Regions from separate parts of the Homo sapiens genome. Here region 1 is linked to region 2. The links are contacts of gene promoters, found by promoter capture Hi-C in blood cells and fetal thymus (Javierre and others, 2016). All regions are on one chromosome and are shown on one strand. Each heading gives the region's core, a stretch centred on a gene start or on the middle of the fragment in contact. The rest is flanking DNA. Distances are from core to core; before and after follow the strand shown. Region 1 overlaps EMC2 (ER membrane protein complex subunit 2). Region 2 holds the start of C8orf88 (chromosome 8 open reading frame 88).

Evidence for each region. Contacts are between HindIII fragments. The CHiCAGO score rates a contact against its expected background, and 5 or more counts as called.
Region 1: a fragment that was not itself captured here is called in contact with the fragment with the promoter of C8orf88 in region 2 in 1 of 17 cell types (fetal thymus); the score reaches 5.6 in fetal thymus.

Annotation. Positions count from the first base shown.
Region 1 is chr8:108,444,644-108,449,107 of GRCh38, forward strand. All of the region lies in intron 1 of EMC2 (ER membrane protein complex subunit 2), which reads left to right. Among named protein-coding and RNA genes, the nearest start is that of EMC2, 3.3 kb to the left of the region's middle. The HindIII fragment of the contact is 3,715 bases long and covers 1-3,123 here.
Region 2 is chr8:90,982,070-90,986,723 of GRCh38, forward strand. C8orf88 (chromosome 8 open reading frame 88) reads right to left here and starts at 3,169. Exons shown (of 6, transcript NM_001190972.2): 1 at 3,045-3,169. RefSeq lists a silencer at 3,193-3,352. The HindIII fragment of the contact is 2,363 bases long and covers 2,446-4,654 here.

The DNA.
Region 1 (4,464 bases), core at 16-2,515, about 17 Mb after region 2:
TATCAGTTATTATAAAGTTGTAAATCCGTTACAAATAAAGCAAAATTTCTTTGTACTTGAACTGAATTAAATGATTTATTGACTTTATGGCCTCTAGCACGTTGTGAATCTCAGTATTTATACCTGAATTGAGGGATTCCATTATATTAAACAACAGTGTTGATTTCTTACTGCAAAATCTTGGCTCTGTCAACACACAGTCCCCACTTCCAAGGAAGTCACAATCTAATGGAGAAAACAAACCTGTAAACACACAGTTTTAAAAGGCTTGTGTCAGGGTATCTTCCGTAAGCTGAGTCGTAGATAAATGGATGTTATTTTTAATGCTTTTTAAAAAATGTTTTAAATATTACATAATTTTTAGAAAATGCTATTATGAAGGTATGTTCATTATAGGTTTCCTAGATGATAGTAGCATATATAAAATCCTGAGGGACGAGTAGCTGTATACTACCAACAGACAAGGTGATTTAACTGAGTAATTGGACCTTACCCTGTGGTCATTCTAAAGAGGATTGATGTAATTAATTTGGAATAATAAATAATAACTACTACACAAATTTGTAGGAACAAAGAAAACATTTTAAAGTGCTTTGTAAACTGTTAAGTACTATATAAAAGGATGTGTTACTATTAGCTAGTGCTAATATGATTATGTCCTTCCTCTGTATGATCTGGCGGTTGCCCATGTCTCCAGCTTTATCTTGAGCCCTTCTCCCTCTCACTTTGTGAGCTGCCTATGCTGGCCTTTGTTGAATACCCTAAATTGCCATGCTGCTTCTTAAAGCTGGCACATGCTAGTCCTTCCACTGGGAGTGTTCTTCCCTCCTTGCCTCACTCTTGCCCCCATTAAACTTTATCATTTATCAATTCCCCACAAAGCTCACCTACTACAAAAAAGCCTTACTTGACCACTCTACTACCCCCTTCCCTTTCCTCATCCCCCACCAAAATTGAAAAAAAAAACCCAAACAATAAAATGAAGCAACAAAACACACCTGCAATCCTTCGATTATGTATTCTATTCTAATACTATTGAAGCACTTACCCAATTGTGTTTTGTTTTAAAATTTTGTCTCTCCTAAGATGAAAGGGACCAGGCCTGTTTCTTCACTGTCACTTCCCTAGAGCCTGACACATGGGGGCGGAGCTCAGTAATTATTTGATGACTAAATGAATTGTTAATGAGATTAATAATAAACACTAACACATTGTCAGAAAAGATTATAAGCCATTTTTCTAGCGTTGAAATAATTTCTTTAGTATCTTAGATACAGGTTTTAGTATCATTCTTCTCTTAGCTTGAAAATGACCTTTTTAGAGAAGCCTTCTCTGACCACCCTTTCCAAAAGCTCCTCCTTTCTCCCAATCTCCTGACTTTATCATATGGTCTTTTAGTTTTATTTGTATAATTTCACTATCTGAAGTTATGTGGATTTTCATCTTTTTACCCTATTATACTCTAAGCATTATGAGTATATAGGAACTTTATCTTTTTCTTTCTTTCTTTATCCTCAGTGCCCAGATCAGGCCTGGCACATAGGCATTTAGGAAATATTAGTTGAGTGATGAAGAACTCCAATATTTACTCCAAGAAGTAAATATTAGTGGAATAATGAAGTATAGTTCCAGTCATACACTATACTGCCTCAAAGAAGGTAGGAATCATTGGGTATCTTAAGAATTTACATTGTAATGAAGTAAATCTTTAGAAATATCTGGTAGTAATTTACAGATTGAATTTGGGTTGAGAGATCAGTTTGGAAGCTATCCTAGCAATTTTAGCATGGGGTGATGAAAGCCTGGGCATGGATAATAGCAGTGGAAATAGAGTAGAAGATGTAAATCTTCGAAATACTTCGAAATACTTCAAAACAATCCACAGGACTTAGATATACAAAACTCCCACAGTGGGAGTCAGAAACAGCACTAAAAAATGGAATGTCAGGTAGTATTAACAGAAGGTGGAATTAACAGAAATGTGAACATTGGGAAGGGAGGCCATATTTTTAGGAAATGAAGATGACTTGATTTTCGGATGCTGTGATTTTGAGGTAATGAGCTATCAAAGGTGAAAACATGTTTTCTTCAAGATGGTTTTATTTTTACAAATAATTTTTTTAGATAAATGTATTTAAGGCATTTCTAAAAGTAGTATGTGGTTAATAGTGCTACAAATGTATTTATTACAGCAGCACTCAAGAGTGTGGCAGGGTCAGCTATGTAAGGTGTATAGCTTAAGGTGTTTATAGGTAAAATGTTGCTTGTTTTGTAAGTTATATTTTCATACACAGTGTTTCTTGTTTTGTGTTCAGCTATTATATTTTAATATGTGACTGTGTGTCAGACTGCCGTTCTTAGAAGTTATGCTTTAAAAAAAGTTCTCTTTCCTATGAGTGTTTTTTCACAATAAGAAACACCTTTTACAAATTAACTCATACTCAATTAAGTATACCTATACATGAATCTTTGAGTGTATGTATAAACTGAAACCAAAGTTGCATTTACAAAGGATTCTAATGAGTATTGCTTCCATTCTGTTCATTTTGTTTCATTCTCCCCCACTGCCCCCCCACCCCCAACAGATGCTGGAAGAAATCCACTGAACCGATTTTATACCCTATTAATGGATTGTAATACACAGTTTGAAAAATACGTCTTCTGGAGCTCTGTGTGCATTAAAATAAATTAACCCTTTCCTTTTTCAAATCAGGTTGCCTTTTCTTTTAGAATAGCTGTTCCCAACAGCCTGCAGCCAATCTGACTAGATACTTTTATGGGACCATGAATAATTTAAAATTTATTATCCTGTAATTATCAACCTTTTAAAAGAATATGCTGGTTTATGTAAATGAATCTGTAAGTGGTATTTCCGAATATATAAAAAAATGAAGTGGAAAAGATACAGGATTGGAGGAAGTAGTTTTGGACTAAAGAAATCATAATTAAGTAGCAGGCATATTTTTCCATCTTTCAGAGGCCACCTCACTGCAGTGACATCTCATGCAAGTTGTCATGGAAGGAATAAACAGAACAATCATAGCGACTCTCTTAACCTTTGACCTTTAGCTCATCTCACAGGATTGCACAGTAGTTAATAAAATGTACAAGCAAGCAGTGAGAAGCTTACTTACATAGTATGTAATAAAATGACCTTGGCTTTGAGGAGCGAGCTTTTTGCAGGAAGGTGAAAGGGTAAAATGAAAGTTTTAAGCCACCTTTGAGGAAAGAGTGAGGGAAGAGCCTTTATTTCTTGTGAGAGGCTGAAACAGTTACCAGATTTTTTTAAAAAATAAAAGTAACTAGAATTTTTGTAGGGCTTCACATTTTATAAAATGCTTTACACGAATTTTCTAGTGTTTGGTGTCCTAAACTCAAGGGCCAAGCAGATGAAAATACATGTAGTTGGGTGAAAGACAATAGTGGTGCCTGTGAAGAACTGGTAAGTGTATACCCTTATCTAAGGGTAATCAAAATCAACTTAAAAACAAAAATATCCAAACTATTGTACGAACCAAGCAACTTTATATATATTTTATGTAATCTTAACTGCTCATCCCTGAGCTAAAGGTAATATTATCTCTATTCATTGGTATTGGAAACTAAGTACAGATTCGGTAAGTTATGTAAGGTCATGTAAAAGATGGAGTTTAGATTCAAACCAAGTGTATCAAGTCCATGTTCTTTCCAGTATACTATACGTCCTCTATGACTGGTGATATGGTTTGGCTCTGTGTCCCCACCCAAATCTCATCTTGTAGCACCCATAATTCCCATGTGTTGAGGAGGAGACCCACTGTGAGATGATTGAATCATGGGGACAGGTCTTTCCCATGCTGTTCTCATTATAGTGAATGGGTCTCACAAGATCTCATGGTTTTAGAAACAGGAGTTTCTCTACACAAGCTCTCTTTCTTTGCCTGCTGCCATCCACGTAGGATATGACTTTTTCCTTCTTGTCTTCTGCCATCATTGTGAGGCCTCCCCAGCCACGTGGAACTGCAAGTCCAGTTAAACCTCTTTCTTTTGTAAATTGCCCAGTCTCGGGTACGTCTTTATCAGCAGTGGGAAAACGGACTAATACAACCAGTTTCTTTTCTTTGAACTGTTTACTCCTTTCCAGTTTATCTTCTGGGGCTTTTTGTTTTGGTTTCAAATTTATTTATTTTTAAAATTGACATATAAAATTTAAAATTCTAGTGGTTTCTTTTTTTTTGCACCAGAATGATTTTCCTGTCAGACAGCCATGATTGTGTTGCTTTTCTTTTGCTCAGCATTTTTAAGTTGTTCTTCTGTACCTTTAAAAACAAACTTTAAAGTTCTCTAGTATGAAATAAAAGTCTTCCAAGAAACTCACTCTTCTTACTTCTTATACACTCATTTCCTGATCCTAGTGTGTTTATTTAATTCCCAGCTACCAGTAGTTCTTTCTGTATAGGATAACTTACTTTGTTATATGCCTGT
Region 2 (4,654 bases), core at 1,919-4,418:
AAGTAAGCACCCAAAAGTTACTATTTGGAGATAACCCAGCAAGTACTTCAAGTTAATACCAACCCAGCTTTGTAATGTGTCTGTTAGCTAGTATTTCAACGTGGCAAAACTAATGCTCTCTGTACTTTTTGTGCAATACAATTGGATATAACAAGATGAAAAAAAAGTTATAAGCACAAATAGAAAAAATACTTCAAATAAAGTTATTAATATTTTCTATGTAGAAGAGTATATTTAAAATAAGGACCAAAAAGCAACCTAATATACATTGCTTTATTTGATGTTTATCCTAGCTATTTTAGTTAAGACCCTAATACTAGTATGTAGTAACTTTCCATCCTGTTCCCCATATGAAACTAGTGAATCAGAATACAATAGGATAGAGTACTTTGGCACACACTTCGTTGTTTTTCATTGCTCAGCTGAAATTTAGTTGTAGGTTGTTAAGTCTTTTCCAATCGCTGAGCAAGGCAAATCCACAGTATTCAAACTAGGGATTTTCAAGAGTTGGGGATTACAGAACTCCATTATATGACTTTGCAACACAAGTAAATAAACAAAAAATCAAAGCTCTTTTGGTGCCACCTACCCTTCAATTTACAGTAGGAAAGATACAGCAATGGCTCCCTGTATATAAATCCACATCAGTTAAGGAAATTAGAAAAGATGGTGTCATTCAGTACTCTGTTTAATATTTTTTTTTAAAGTAAACGATGCCTGCAGGGAAACACTGACATTATAGGGGACAAGTTTGGGATTACAATGCATAGTACATTCCACCATCATGTTATTAATGAAAAAGGTTAAGTATTTATAAAAAGTAATTATTATTGTAAAACTGAGTCACGAGATTATAATTAAGGCAGAACTCCATAAACCAAAACCTAATTCTCAGTTTAGTTAAAAATAATAAAGACTTAACTGCACTACAAAGTCATTATACAAAACAAATTCAGTCTTAAACTCTAATGCCTGCTTCATCCATGGAATGTAGAGATCAAAAAGTTTCCCTTGAAGCTACTGGTGCTACCTAGAGTAGCCATGTATCATATCAACGATTCAAAGCACAGTTACAAAATAAACAGAATTCTGCCTACAACATTGGGTAGCAAGTAGTGGGCCTATCATAAGGTTGTAAAATGTAAATTTAAAAATGTAAATGTATAGTTTTGTGGTATAAATGTTTTTTAAAGGATATTTTGATCCAATGTCTCCAAAAAAACTTTCTATTAATACATACTGAGAAATGGTTGCTGAATAGTTTTTTTCAAGATCACACACACTTAACAAATCATCTTTAAAGACCAAGTTGTATGAATAGAATATTGGTAAATCAGTTAGTTATTTACAGTTGCTATTCTACACCTGGCAATACTAACTATATCTTAGGTTCCTTTTCTTTTTAAAAAATTTACCTAAGTATGAATCTTCAGGCCTTATCAGTCCTGATATTACCAGTAAACCTAGAATTGTCTAAAATACAATGGGATAATAAGCAGATACATTGACCACTTTGGCCAAAATCTTATTAATCTTATTTTTTAATTAAGATGCCTTTTTAAGGTCCTACTACATACTAAATATAATTTCATTTAATTTTGAGCCATATATGAACGGTGGAAGAAAATTATTATTAGTCCCACTTCACAGATAAGAAACCTGAGGCTCAGAAAAATAAGAGACATGCCCAAGTCCACATAGCTACTAAGTGCTAGATATTAGGATTTGACTACAAAGTTCACACCTTTATATCAAAACTTGCCTATTTGTTACATAAAAGAAAGATATCTGACTGTCCATTTATTACATGTGGACACTGCGTGTATAGATTTAAAAATTAATGTGAAAAGTAACATTTATTTATAAGGCCATGCAGAATAAATTGGTATATGCTAATAATATCCATTTCTTCAATTTACCATTTTTCTTAGAATACTAAATAAATTAGGGAGTACTGTGCTTTCCTCACGCTACAGACATGGTATACTGCCATACTAACCATAGATCACAGCATATGAAATATACTATGCACTGTTTTTAGAAGCTGAGTACTATACTTAAACTCCAATATAAATTCTAGTCTTCTTTGGAAAGTACTGATGCTACCGCTGCCGTTGAGAAATAAGATCATATAAAGTGAAATAATGAAATGAAAAGACCATATTTGAATTTACCTTGTGTATAATTCCCATATGATAACCAGATAAAATTTCATCTCAATTTCCAACTTCAAAACATTACAAAGTTAGGATTCCTTGAAACCCAATACTGCTTGTAAGTAAACTGCTCACACTGACAAAATGATAGATGAAGAGAAACATACAGGAAACATCGGGGAGTAAGAAATAAACCACCTATGACTCAAGTGGTGAAAGACATTTCACGTTCCATATATCTGGTTGCACTATTAAGGAAAAATTAAAACGAAAATATCAAAAAACTAGAAGCTTGGAGAGTTCCAACATATCTTCCATTTCATGCCTTCTCTTTATAACTAATTTAATTTTTTTTTTGGTCTATTTGAGGGATTTCTCAAAACAAAACACAATTTAACATTCGGATGGGCTAAAGCTGTCCAGGTAATAGGTGTCTGTGATTACTTTAGTCATGTAACTGTCCTTTCCGTAGCTTTGACTAAAACACCAGCAATGAAAACCTTGTGCCACCGGGTGGAGGGGGCAAATCGTCTTGAAAGCCTCCCACCGCCTGGCACCAGGTGCTGGGGCAGAGCCAAGGGGAGCTGTGTACTTAGCTCCTTTTTTGGCGATGGCTTTGGTCTCGGCCACTTGCCCCTCCGTCGGGCTCCCCTGGCCCCCTACACTTTCTTTCCCCTCATCCGACGCTCTCGCTCCCATCCCACTCCCATTCAGGGTCCACAGGGTACTGAAGGGGCCCTGAGAGATTTCCCGACCCACCTCAGAGCTTCTCTTCCTCGCCTCAACTTTCCCGGGGTCGGGCCTGGGAGACGGCGCCCACCCGCCTCCTCCACACCACGGGGCCCGACTTCCGTCCCCCAGTGTCGCTCATCCTCCCTAGCCACTTACCGACTCAAAATCCACGGGGATTTCGGGGCAGCAGCGTCGCCGCGCTCAGCCCACACGCGGAGGCCGAGCGCCCTGCTGCCCGTCGGGGAACGGCTCCTGCCGCTGGTCCGCTGGCTGACCGCGGTGGCGGCGGCGGGGGGCGAGGGGCGGGGGGCGAGGGGCGGGGGGCGGGGCGGGAGGCGGCTCCGAGGGGCACGAGGCGGGCCCAGGGCGGGCGCGGGGCGTGGCCTCGGGCGCTGAGCCTCGAGAGCAGCCGCACCCCTGCCGGGGTAGAACCGTTAAAAGGGTGGCGCGCGCTTTCCCGGGCGAGCTGGGCGCGTGGGGTTGGAGCGGCGCCACCCAGAGCCGGTCGTCTAGGGTAGGAGGCCGCGAGTGAGGCGCTGACAGGCTAGCCCTCGACGGGGCGCGCCCGCGTGAACGGCCTTGGGGGCCCCAGACCGTGGCCCTGCTTGTGCGAAGACTGGGAGGCGCCAGGCGGGCCGCCTGCTGGGGGCTTGGCGGCGGGTTCCAGGCAGCGTCTGTGAGGGAGGCCGCCTCTGTGAGGGAGGCCGCCGTCGTGCTGACGACTGAGTCCACCCTACTCCTGTCCCCCGTCAGAGCTGCTGGCAGGCGCTGCTTTCCCCTTGGTGCATTTAGTGGGTGTCGGGATTCGGGTTGGCAGGGAGGAAGATGTTTGAGACCTGGTTTACCTCAGACCAGGGATACAGCGTTTCACACAGACTGCCATCCTGAAAGGAACAAAATGAATTAAGGCAACTCCATCCGAATCATTTCTTTTTAATCTTCACCTTCAATCCTTTTGCTAATTTTTCATTATCTTTGAGTGTCCCCAGAGGGGGACTGTCTGCTTGTACTGAGGGACGTGGAGGTGGCAGTCCCTCACGTCCCCAAGCACCAAAAGGACAGTTGAAAATGCACTGGCAAACACTGAACGGTTTTAAGTGGGGCACTATCAGGATTTACCATTTTGGAAGGTATGAAGTTTCACAAGCACTTCCATGTATAGTCAAGTTATTGGAGCTGTCTCCGTTTAGAAATGGCTTCCAGAAACACTCCTACTATCCACTGAGACAACTCGCCTGGCATCAGAGACCTAGGGTCCAGGGTCAGAGATGGGTCATGATAAAAGGGCATCCCTTGGGGTGAGGCACCAGAAGTCTGCACAGTGGAATCAATATATTCCAACCACCAGATGTAGAAAATCTTAAGTGCAGGATGTGGTTCTCATCCATCTAGTCACAACAGAAGTTTTCTTCTTCAGGAATATACTTAACAATGAAGCATGTATAATTTTATATACATCTTACAATAAAATTATTTTGTGCATATCACTGTATGAAGTCAGTAGAAACTATTGTGACAAAAATGTAAATTGGAAGAATTCCAATTCAGATCAGTATTAGTAATTTATTGAGAGGAAGAGAGAAATTAGACTAGACAGACTCCTTGATTTTTTGATAATTGAGGAAGAAAAATGAACCATATAAACATATCGAAACTTTTCAAAATCTTATTGATAATGACATAAAATTTTGGCATCTACAAGGATAATCTAGAATTCATACCTTTACAACAAGAACTTGACAACAAACAGGTTAATGACTTTTAGC